2 separate regions of the Homo sapiens genome follow, and region 2 is linked to region 1. The links are contacts of gene promoters, found by promoter capture Hi-C in human tissues and cell types (Jung and others, 2019). All regions are on one chromosome and are shown on one strand. The core of a region is centred on a gene start or on the middle of the fragment in contact, and the rest is flanking DNA. Distances in the headings are between cores, read along the strand shown. Region 1 holds the start of KCTD4 (potassium channel tetramerization domain containing 4). Region 2 overlaps TSC22D1 (TSC22 domain family member 1).

The links. The method cuts DNA at HindIII sites, captures the fragments that hold promoters and counts their contacts. A contact is called where the count stands out against the background at its distance.
Region 2: a fragment that was not itself captured here is called in contact with the fragment with the promoter of KCTD4 in region 1 in 1 of the 25 tissues and cell types used here (pancreas).

What each region holds. Positions count from the first base shown.
Region 1 is chr13:45,198,325-45,203,227 of GRCh38, reverse strand. KCTD4 (potassium channel tetramerization domain containing 4) reads left to right here and starts at 2,183. Exons shown (of 2, transcript NM_198404.3): 1 at 2,183-2,404. The region is part of intron 4 of GTF2F2 (general transcription factor IIF subunit 2); the gene reads right to left. The HindIII fragment of the contact is 9,631 bases long and covers 1-4,903 here.
Region 2 is chr13:44,553,519-44,558,317 of GRCh38, reverse strand. All of the region lies in intron 1 of TSC22D1 (TSC22 domain family member 1), which reads left to right. Among named protein-coding and RNA genes, the nearest start is that of TSC22D1-AS1, 20 kb to the left of the region's middle. The HindIII fragment of the contact is 3,555 bases long and covers 236-3,790 here.

The DNA of each region.
Region 1 (4,903 bases), core at 934-3,433:
GTGCATGCCTGTAGTCCTAGCTATTTGGGAGGCTAAGGCATGAGAATTGTTTGAACTCTGTAGGTAGAGGTTGCAATGAGCTGAGATCACATCACTGCACTCCAGCCTGGGCGACAGAATGAGACTGAAAAACTAAATGATGGGTTTAATTTTTGAAAAACAAAGAAAACAGATGGTCAGTCAGTATCCTATATTCAAAGCAAAGGCCTTGTCTTACATATACATCAGCAACTAAATGTACATTTATTTTATTTTATTTTATTTCTGAGATGATGTCTCACTCTGTCACCCAGGCTGGAGTAGCTGGAGTACAGTGGTGCAATCTCAACTCACTGAAACCTCCGCCTCCCAGGTTCAAGCAATTCTCATGCCTCAGCCACCTGAGGTGCTGGGATTACAGGCGTGCGCCACCATGCCCAGCTAATTTTTGTATTTTTAGTACAGCCAGGGTTTCACCATGGTAACCAGGCAGGTCTTGAACCCCTGACCTCACGTGATCTGCCCACCTCGGCCTCCCAAAGTGCTGGGATTACAGGCGTGAGCCACCGTGCCCAGCCAACTAAACGTACATTTATAAGTTTTAAGATAAAATGTTTAAGGCAGATAGGAACTGCATATTGATATCATTTTTATGATTTCCCATCTTTTAATGTAACTGACCAATTACTGGTTATTCCATATGTGCTGTAGGATTCTTCTGTCAAGTTGAATATGTTAAAGGTCATAAAATAGAAACATACAAGAGTACTGGGATTAAACACACATGTACTTGCACACACACACACACCCACTCAGATGTCTAGCTAGAGATCAAGAAGAGTTTTTTGTTTTGTTTTGTTTTGAGATGGAGTCTCGCTCTGTTGCCTAGACTGGAGTGCAGTGGCGCGATCTTGGCTCACCGCAACCTCCGCCTCCTGGGTTCAAGCGATTCTCCTGCCTCTGCCTCCTGGGTAGCTGGGATTACAGGTATGTGCCACTGCGCCAGGCTAATTTTTGTATTTTTAGTGGAGATGGGGTTTTGCCATGTTGGCCAGGCTGGTCTTGAACTCCTGACCTCTGGTGATCCGCCCACCTCAGCCTCCCAAAGTGCTAGGATTACAGGTGTGAGCCACCACGCCAGGCCAAGAAGAGTTTTGAAGAATAAGCAATGATTGTGCTGGACCTTGAAAAATGGGTAGGATTTAGACTGGGGTGGGTGGGGGTAAGAAGGAAGAGTACTGAAGGTGGTAGGAATGGCCTCTGTGTGTCTGTGCTTGCTCGCTCTTGTGCTTGAAATGTTCAACTAAGGGGCTCACACCACCAATTACTAGAAGGACATGGTCTTGCCAGCACTCTGCAGAGAAGCCACACAAACTCATCCTACCAAAGGCTTTGGAATGGCTCAATTCATATCTTTTCCTTGGCCATTTGCTCTTCTTTGGATTCTGGGAAATAGTATGGGATTCTTTCTAAATTCTCCCCCGCACTCCTTTTTTGGCTAGATTGGTTTGTTGACTGGTTTCTGCTACTTGCAACCAAAAGAATCTTATTGAGTATGAACACACATCTTTGATGATGGTAATTTATGTATATCCCACCACCTAAAATCAGAAAAAACTCGAGAGAAAATTTTAAAGGTTATGTATATAAAGCACATCCTATAAAAAGAACTGAAGGCTTCTAGTTAAGATTCTGTCACTAAACAGCAGTGTTACTTTGGAGAAGTTATTTTACATCTCTGGGCCTCAGCATCCATAATAATGATATTACTAGAATGTCTGAGATCTCTTCTAGGTCTCTTTCACTAAATAAAAATGCTAGCCTTCCTCTCCAACTGGGGATGTTTTATTATTTCATTAGTGTTATTTTGTTTGCTCTAGTACTTTCCAAAAGACCTAGATATAATTAAATTTTCTTTGAATAGAAAGAGAATAACAAAATGTTAAGAAGCTGCCCAAGGCTTGAAAATATTTAAATTTGTGCTCTATGCTGGATTATCCTGCCCTATATCTGAACTTGACATACACTCTATGTCAAAGAACTGAGGAGAAATGATACTGGCACTTTTTTTAAAAAGTTAAGGGCATCCCTAGTTTGAAGAAGTTAAAGGAATAAGCAAGCAGCAACACTGCTTATTAGCATTGGCATGTAAGTAATGAAATCAAGTATGTTAGGAAGTCTTAGGCATCAGGAAGTTACACTCATTCATTTCCACAAGACCTTCTGGATCCAGCTGAATGTGGAGGCCTTTAAGAGAACTTCCAGCTCCTGTAAAAACCCAGACCAGAGGACTACTGACCAACATTTCAGGCTGATCCTCCAGACCTCGAAGTTACTCTCCTTACTCTCCTGACTCTTAATTACATCACACCTGTGTCGACACTCTCTGGGAAAAGACTGAAGAAATAATCTTTTCAAGAAGCAGGTACATTTAAAAGGCAAACCATTTTTAATATTCCTAGTAGTCTCCTTTCTTCTCATTTAAAATATGTTCCTAGAAGTTTTTTTGCCTGTGGTTCTGAGTTGAGGTCTACTAATAAAAGGTACTAGCATCTTAACAAACCAGTTAGGCAAACTTTCTATCCCTGTATTATTAAAAAGCTGCTCTTTACTTGTGAAGTAATATTCTGATCTCTATTTGATCTTCAGGAATTTTGCCACGCATGGTGGCTCACATCTGTAATCCCAACACTTTGGGAGGCTGAGGCAGCAGCATAGCTTGAGCCCAGCCTGGGCAACAAAGTGAGACCCAGTCTCCACAAAAAGATAAAAAAGTTAGCCAGGTATGGTGGGGTATGCCTGTGGCCCCAACTATACGGGAGTTTCCTAAGGCAGGAAGATCACCTGAGCCCAGGAGGTTGAGGTTGCAATACACTCCAGCCTGGGTGACAGAGCAAGACCCTGTATCAAAAAATAAAATTTAATTTTATAAAAGTTATAAAATAATTTGCCTAATTTTAACATCAAGCAGCCACATTGTTTTGTCTCTCCCTCTCTCTCTCATCTCCCTGCAAAATTCTTTCCCTCCTCCCTGTCTGTTAATTTTACTTTCTTGTGATACGGAGGGAATAGCTCACAGAGCTGCTCAAATATTTCATCAACTATAAGATGCTATCATTTGTAATAGCAACCATTATTTTACGTGCCACCAAGACAAAATACTGCTGCTAAACTTTGACAAGCTAACGATATTAAGATGTACCTCAGTTATAGAAATGGTAAATATGAAAAAAATGTGTGATATGATAGAGTTCTCCATCCCTAGTTTATAACTCCTCCCTACTCTGTAAGAAACCACATTTGCTCCCTTGAGCCATCACATCCTGTTCTCCTGTTCAGATCCTCTTCTCTCTTCTCCACACCACCTCATCACTGAAGACACAAGCAGATGTTAAGTGATGAGAAAATCAGAAGGAACAGTGGCAGGCGCTAGTATACGGTAACAGAGACCCTCTTTAGTCATTTACTTCCTAACTGTACTACCTTTACAAGAGTTTTCAAAGTTATGCCCTTCATTTTGAGATTGTAGATAATGGTTATTAGCTTAAAATATCTTCTTCCCAAAGAGAAAGTAAAATTGCATTTTGCCAAATAGCACTATAAAAATGAGTTCTGTACAATATTATAATTTTAATGTTCATTTGATGGCTTACATAAGTGCTATGCTCATCTGGTTACAATAGAATTTTCCAGTAAATAATAACGCACAGGTTATATTTCAAAAAAAAACTTCATTTTTAAAAAACTTAAGGTATGACTTCTGCTTACAAAATTATAAAACACAGGTTTCCCTGAAATACTCATTTTCCAAAGTACATGTAAAACATGAATTAATATGACTTATAAATTGTCAAGATTGCCTCTGTAGTGAAAATCAAAGAAATGTGGAATGGAATTTCACCTGAACTTCTGAGCTAGTCTGTTGTCTTTATTTGTGCTCCTTTTGACACATAGTGCCTTATGTTTTTCTATACTCCTCAAATGAAGCTAAAACATTTACCAATGTAGGCAATTTTCCTGGGCTTCCTTGAAGACGCAGTTCAACACTGCAAAATATTTACAGCTGTATTCTTTGGACTGCAATGACATGTTCACACGACCTTGTGGCCAGAGGTTACGTCCTATTAGTCCTAGGAAGGTTCAAGTACTTGGCACAGTTTGTGAGATGCTGTGGTCAATCAGTTACATAAAGTGGCTGCCATAGTACTTTTGTTAGTGTAATACCAGTAGCAGACAACATTTAGAGCAGATAAATTTTATATTTCAAAATAGAACTAAAATTTGGACACTCAAAAAGAATTACATTAACATGGGAAAATCCTTGATTCTTAAAACATGTCAATAATTAGACAGTGTAATTTTTATTTTTAACACACAAAAGAAGCCAACACAAAATATTCATACCTCAATATCAAAATGAATGTTTCTTACATTCAGTGCTATTGACAAGAGGCAATGAAGCAAGTACATGTTAAAAAAAAAGAAACTCAGCTTGTGAAAGGCAGAGGAAGGTCAAAACACAGATCAATAAACAAAAAAACAAAAAAAAAATGTGGGCAAGTCCAAGGCAGAGATATACTGTCAGATTTAAGTAAAAAGTTGACAGCAGCTTCTCTAGCTTTTACTTTCTTTCTAAGGTAATGGGAATGAAATCCTTTTAAAAGACAAGCAGAGAAGCATGCAGCTGACAACAACCAAGATTTGATAGCAGGGGAGAATGTGGAGACAGAAGCTCCCTGTTCTTATCAAACGCAGCTTCTAAAACCATTCCTTTTCCTTGAAGAGTGTCTGAATTTTATAGAGGAATGATCTGTTAAGTCTAGGAGAATTATCATACTTTTTGTATCTTCCAGTCGGGAGGGATAACCTCCTGGTAAGGTTTCACTTCCTTCCATGGCATGGGAGTATCTCTGGCATATAAATG
Region 2 (4,799 bases), core at 764-3,263, 640 kb after region 1:
GGTTGATATGTTACTACAAATAAAATATTGTGAAGTTAAGGACCTTGGTCACATTAACTACTAAGTGATGGAGCTAGTCAGTATTCCATTAGGTGATTTCATTCCAAAACTTGCACTCAACCACATTCTGGAGGTTTCTTTTGTCCATTGAGAAGAACAAAAGGTGACAGCTGACAACTATAAAAAGCAGTCGTTAGCCTATTGAGTATAGAGGCATTTGACACTATAGACTTTCCTGGTTATTTCGGTCACTATTTTATGGAGTTGTCCAGTAATGAGTGTACCTAATAATTCCTTCAATCTTTATTATTATTTTCTCTTAGTACATTTAAAAAGTATAGTTTCTACCCCAGTGGTTAAATTCTCCAAATTTATTGCTAAAAAGTAAACTTTAAATTTGGAAAATTTGCTGAAGTAAATTGCAATTTCAGAAAAATAAGTGAATATGGAGACACCCAGTTTCATGACATAAATATTTCAATAAATTATTAGATTACTGGCCTTCTAGTGGTCTCAGATTCTATAAGCTGTTGATACTTAGGATATTTTTTATAAGCTTAATGCAATCAAATTAAAATTCTATTAAAATACTTTTAAAGTAGAAACCTAATTTTAATCAGTTGAATAATAGCACATTTTATGAATCAGATTTTTAATTTTGAGTGGTTACAACTTATCTTCACATCATATTTATTATTGGAACAAGAAAGTGATAATTTTCCTGTGAACTCACTTGGGGAAGTATAAAAAAAATGATAGTTTATATGAATGCTTTAATATTCATTTGAAAAATAGGATTTAGCTTGTCCTTTTGCTTATTCTAGAAGGTAGAATTAACTTTTTGTTTTGTTTTGTTTTGAGACGGAGTCTCGCTCTGTCGCCAGACTGGAGTGCAGTGACGTGATCTCAGCTCACCGCAACCTCCACCTCGCAGGTTCAAGCAATTCTCCTGCCTCAGCCTCCCAAGTAGCTGGGATTACAGGTGTGCACCACCATGCCCAGCTAATTTTTGTATTTTTAGTAGAGACAGGGTTTTACCACATTGGCCAGGATGGTCTCTATCTCTTGACCTTGTGATCCGCCCACCTTGGCCTCCCAAAGTGCTGGGATTACAGGTGTGTGCCACTGCGCCCGGCCACTTTTTCTTTTTTTGTAATTTTTTTTTTTTTCCTTTGAGACTGAGTTTCTACCTTGTTGCCCAGGCTGGAGTGCAATGGTGCGATCTCGGCTCACCACAACCTCTGACTCCCGGGTTCAAGCCATTCTCCTGCCTCAGCCTCCCAAGTAGCTGGGATTACAGGCATGCACCACCATGCCTGGCTAATTTTGTATTTTTAGTACAGATGGGGTTTCTCCATGTTGGTCAAGCTGGTCTCGAACTCCCGACCTCAGGTGATCCGCCCGCCTCGGCCTCCCAAAGTGCTGGGATTACAGGTGTGAGACACCATGCTCGGCCTTGAATCTTAGACATCTGCATTAGGTCTTCAGAGGTGGCATGATCTCGGCTCACTGCAACCTCCGCCTTGTGGGTTTAAAGGATTCTCCTGCCTCAGCCTCCTGAGTAGCTGGGATTACAGGTGTGCGTCACCACGTCCAACTAGTTTTTGTATTTTTAGTAGAGACGGGGTTTTGCCATGTTGGCTAGACTGGTCATGAACTCCTGACCCTAAGTGATCTGCTCGTCTTGGCCTCCCAAAATGCTGGGATTACAGGCATGAGCCACTGCACCTGGCTACAAAAATTTTTTAAAGTATTCAGATTTTTTTTTTTTTTTGAGATGGCGTCTCATTCTCACCCAGACTGGAGTGCATTTGCACGATCTCGGTTCACTGCAACCTCCGCTTCCTGGGTTCAAGTGATTCTCCTGCATCAGCCTCCCTAGTAGCTGGAAGTACAGGCGTGCACCACTGCGCCCAGCTAATTTTTGTATTTTTTTTAAGAGACGGGGTTTCACCATGTTGGTCAGGCTGGTCTTGAACTCCTGACCTTGTGATCCATCTGCCTTGGCCTCCCAAAGTACAAGGATTACAGGTGTTGAGTCACCGTGCACGGCCCCAAGAGATGGTGGTGGTGGTGGTTTGTTTTTTTTTTTTAACAGTAGAACTGTTTTTTTCGTTTCCATTATTTATTTCCTGATTCACTTATAAATGTTGGAGCTATTGAAGCAATTGGAATTTTTTTGAATTATAGTTAACAATAGTAAAGATGTATCTTAAAAGATATAGTAGCTTTATTTATCATTTAATAGTAATGTAATATAAGCCTTACTTGTGTGTTCCATAATTTTTACTTTCTGCCAGTATGAAATAGCCAAAAGTGACTGAAAGCCAGTAATTTTCACATCCCGTGCAAGTCGATTGCATTTCTAGATATTTTACTTATTTAGTATGCTCTTGACAGCCTAAAATTGCCATTCTCCCCAGTGTCAGCATTCATGGAGAAAAGAGAATTTTTTTTCATTTTGTTAGATATTATTTTAATACCATATCAAAACACCTTGACTAATGAAAAAAGCTTTTCTCTCAAGCTTTGAACATTTTTGAAGGCATTTCATACTTTTTTTTTTTTGGTATTTTAATGTATAAATACAGAAACCTATCTTGCATGGGTGGGTGCCACATGTAAACATCAATGGCTAAAATGTTCTCAAAGTGCTTGAAGACAAGGATGGCTGTACATATTTGTTTATTTATTTATTTATTTATTTATTTTTAGACAGGGTCTTTTGCTGTCGCCCAAGTTGGAGTGCAGTGGCACAATCTCGGATCACTGCAACCTCCACCTCGTGGGTTCAAGTGGTTCTCCCGCCTCAGCCTCCTGAGTAGCTGGGATGACAGGCTCGCGCCACGACACCCAGCTTATTTTTGTATTTTTAGTAGAGACAGAGTTCACTGTTGGCCAGTCTGGTCTCAAATTCCTGAGGTCAGGTGATCCATCCTCCTTGGCCTCCCAAAGTGCTGAGATTACAGGCATGACGCACCACGCCCGACCTACGTATTTCTTATTAGTCTTTTGTTGTTGTTGTTTGCTTACGTTTTCTGGAAAAAAAAAAATTCACAAGGGCCTAAGAATAACATTCTGGCATTTTTGCAAGACACTTGTGATTATTGAATCTTCTTAAGAGATAATATTTTAAAACTGGATTACCTTTTATAAAATGGACAGGCTAAGATCAACTTTGGATTTTTTTTTTTTTTTTAATTTAGAGGTCTAGTTATCTTTCCAGTTGTATTCAGACTCTTAGCCCTTAGGGATCTACAAGTGGCTTATTAGGAAATTGATCCAATATGTAGAAACAAAAGCTTCTAACAAGTGGACACATTGGCCTAACAAAAACCAAGTTATACTATATTTGAGTTCATGAATGTCTGACTTAAATGCCATTAGTACCATTCATTCAGTAATCTGAATTAGGCTTAACACATGAGAAGGGGAGAGGAGACAAGAGAAATAGGGAGTTGAAGACCATTAGAAGGAGTGGAAGAGAAGGAGGGGATTTGGTGATAATAATTTGGTAAACATTTGGTGCAGTTTGCGGTCAGGGTCACTGTGTCCTCATTGCCTGCATCAGCGAATTTATCTATATAAAAATTATTTTAGAAAAATTACCTAAGGTAGTTTAAGCAATTGTCTTTTAGCCTAGAAGGTTTTTAACAGTACCTCTTTTTTTTTTTTTTTTTTTTTTTTGTTCCTGGTATTGGGATGATTTATTTACTTCAAAAATACTCATTCAATATTTATTGAATGCTTGTTACATACCTAGCACTGAACAAAGATACTAAGGGTATGAAGAAAAAAAAAGACATGGTTTTGGTCTGCAACAGTTTCGTCTAGTACACTCAAGCATCATAAGATCTTGATTTATCTTCTCAATTATCCAAATAAGTTTATATTGTGCTCAATTGTTATTCTGTATATGGTATACATGACAGTTTTTCTATTCAAATGAATTGATGCATCTGGACTATCGATGAATAAGCATAATGAGGTAGAGTTTAATGAACGTTAGTCTTGGCATCAGCCCTGGCATCTCATCTTATTTCTGCTACCTCTTCATTGTATGACCTTTGTAAATGAGTTAACTTTTTTAAGCCTGATTTCCATAGCTGTTATGTGCAGGTAATAGCTACCCGTGCTGTTGTTGTGAGGATAAAAGGAGAAAGGCATATAATGCACCTGGCTCAGTTCTTGATAGTTCTGTAAATCGATGGCTGTTTTTATTACTGTGCTAAGTAAGAGTGATTCCTTTCTTAAGCACTGTAAGTTAAAATGGAAAGCTTGTTTACTTGTTCAGAGGCGTTATACATAATTTTCTAAAGCAGCGGTTCTGTACCTTTGTGACATTTTTGGTGCAGTCTTTCTCACCTGGGGTCCATAAGACAATCCCTACAGGAAAAGAGTGCCTACTCTCTTAGTTCTAAGAATGGCATATATCTAGCACCATCATTCTAAATGCATAAGAAAATAGCGAATTCATTACATACAGTGGAGCGATCAGGGATTAATTCTTTCGCTGACTCTCATGCTGCCAGGACAGTATTATATGTGATTATTGAGCAGTTCTTTGAAATTCCTAAATTCACAAAAACATAAGTTGTTGTAAAAGCAACCTTTCCCTTTTTTTAAATGGGGGTGGGGAATACTTGGAAGAAATACAGCGTCATGTAGCAGTTTGTTAATACTCTAAAATAGAACCATTACCCCAATTAAGTGATTCTCAACTTTTTCATTCTGAAAGATTGTTTTAGATGGGCATTATGCCCTGAAGACCATCTCTTCCATGCTCAGTCCCATATGGG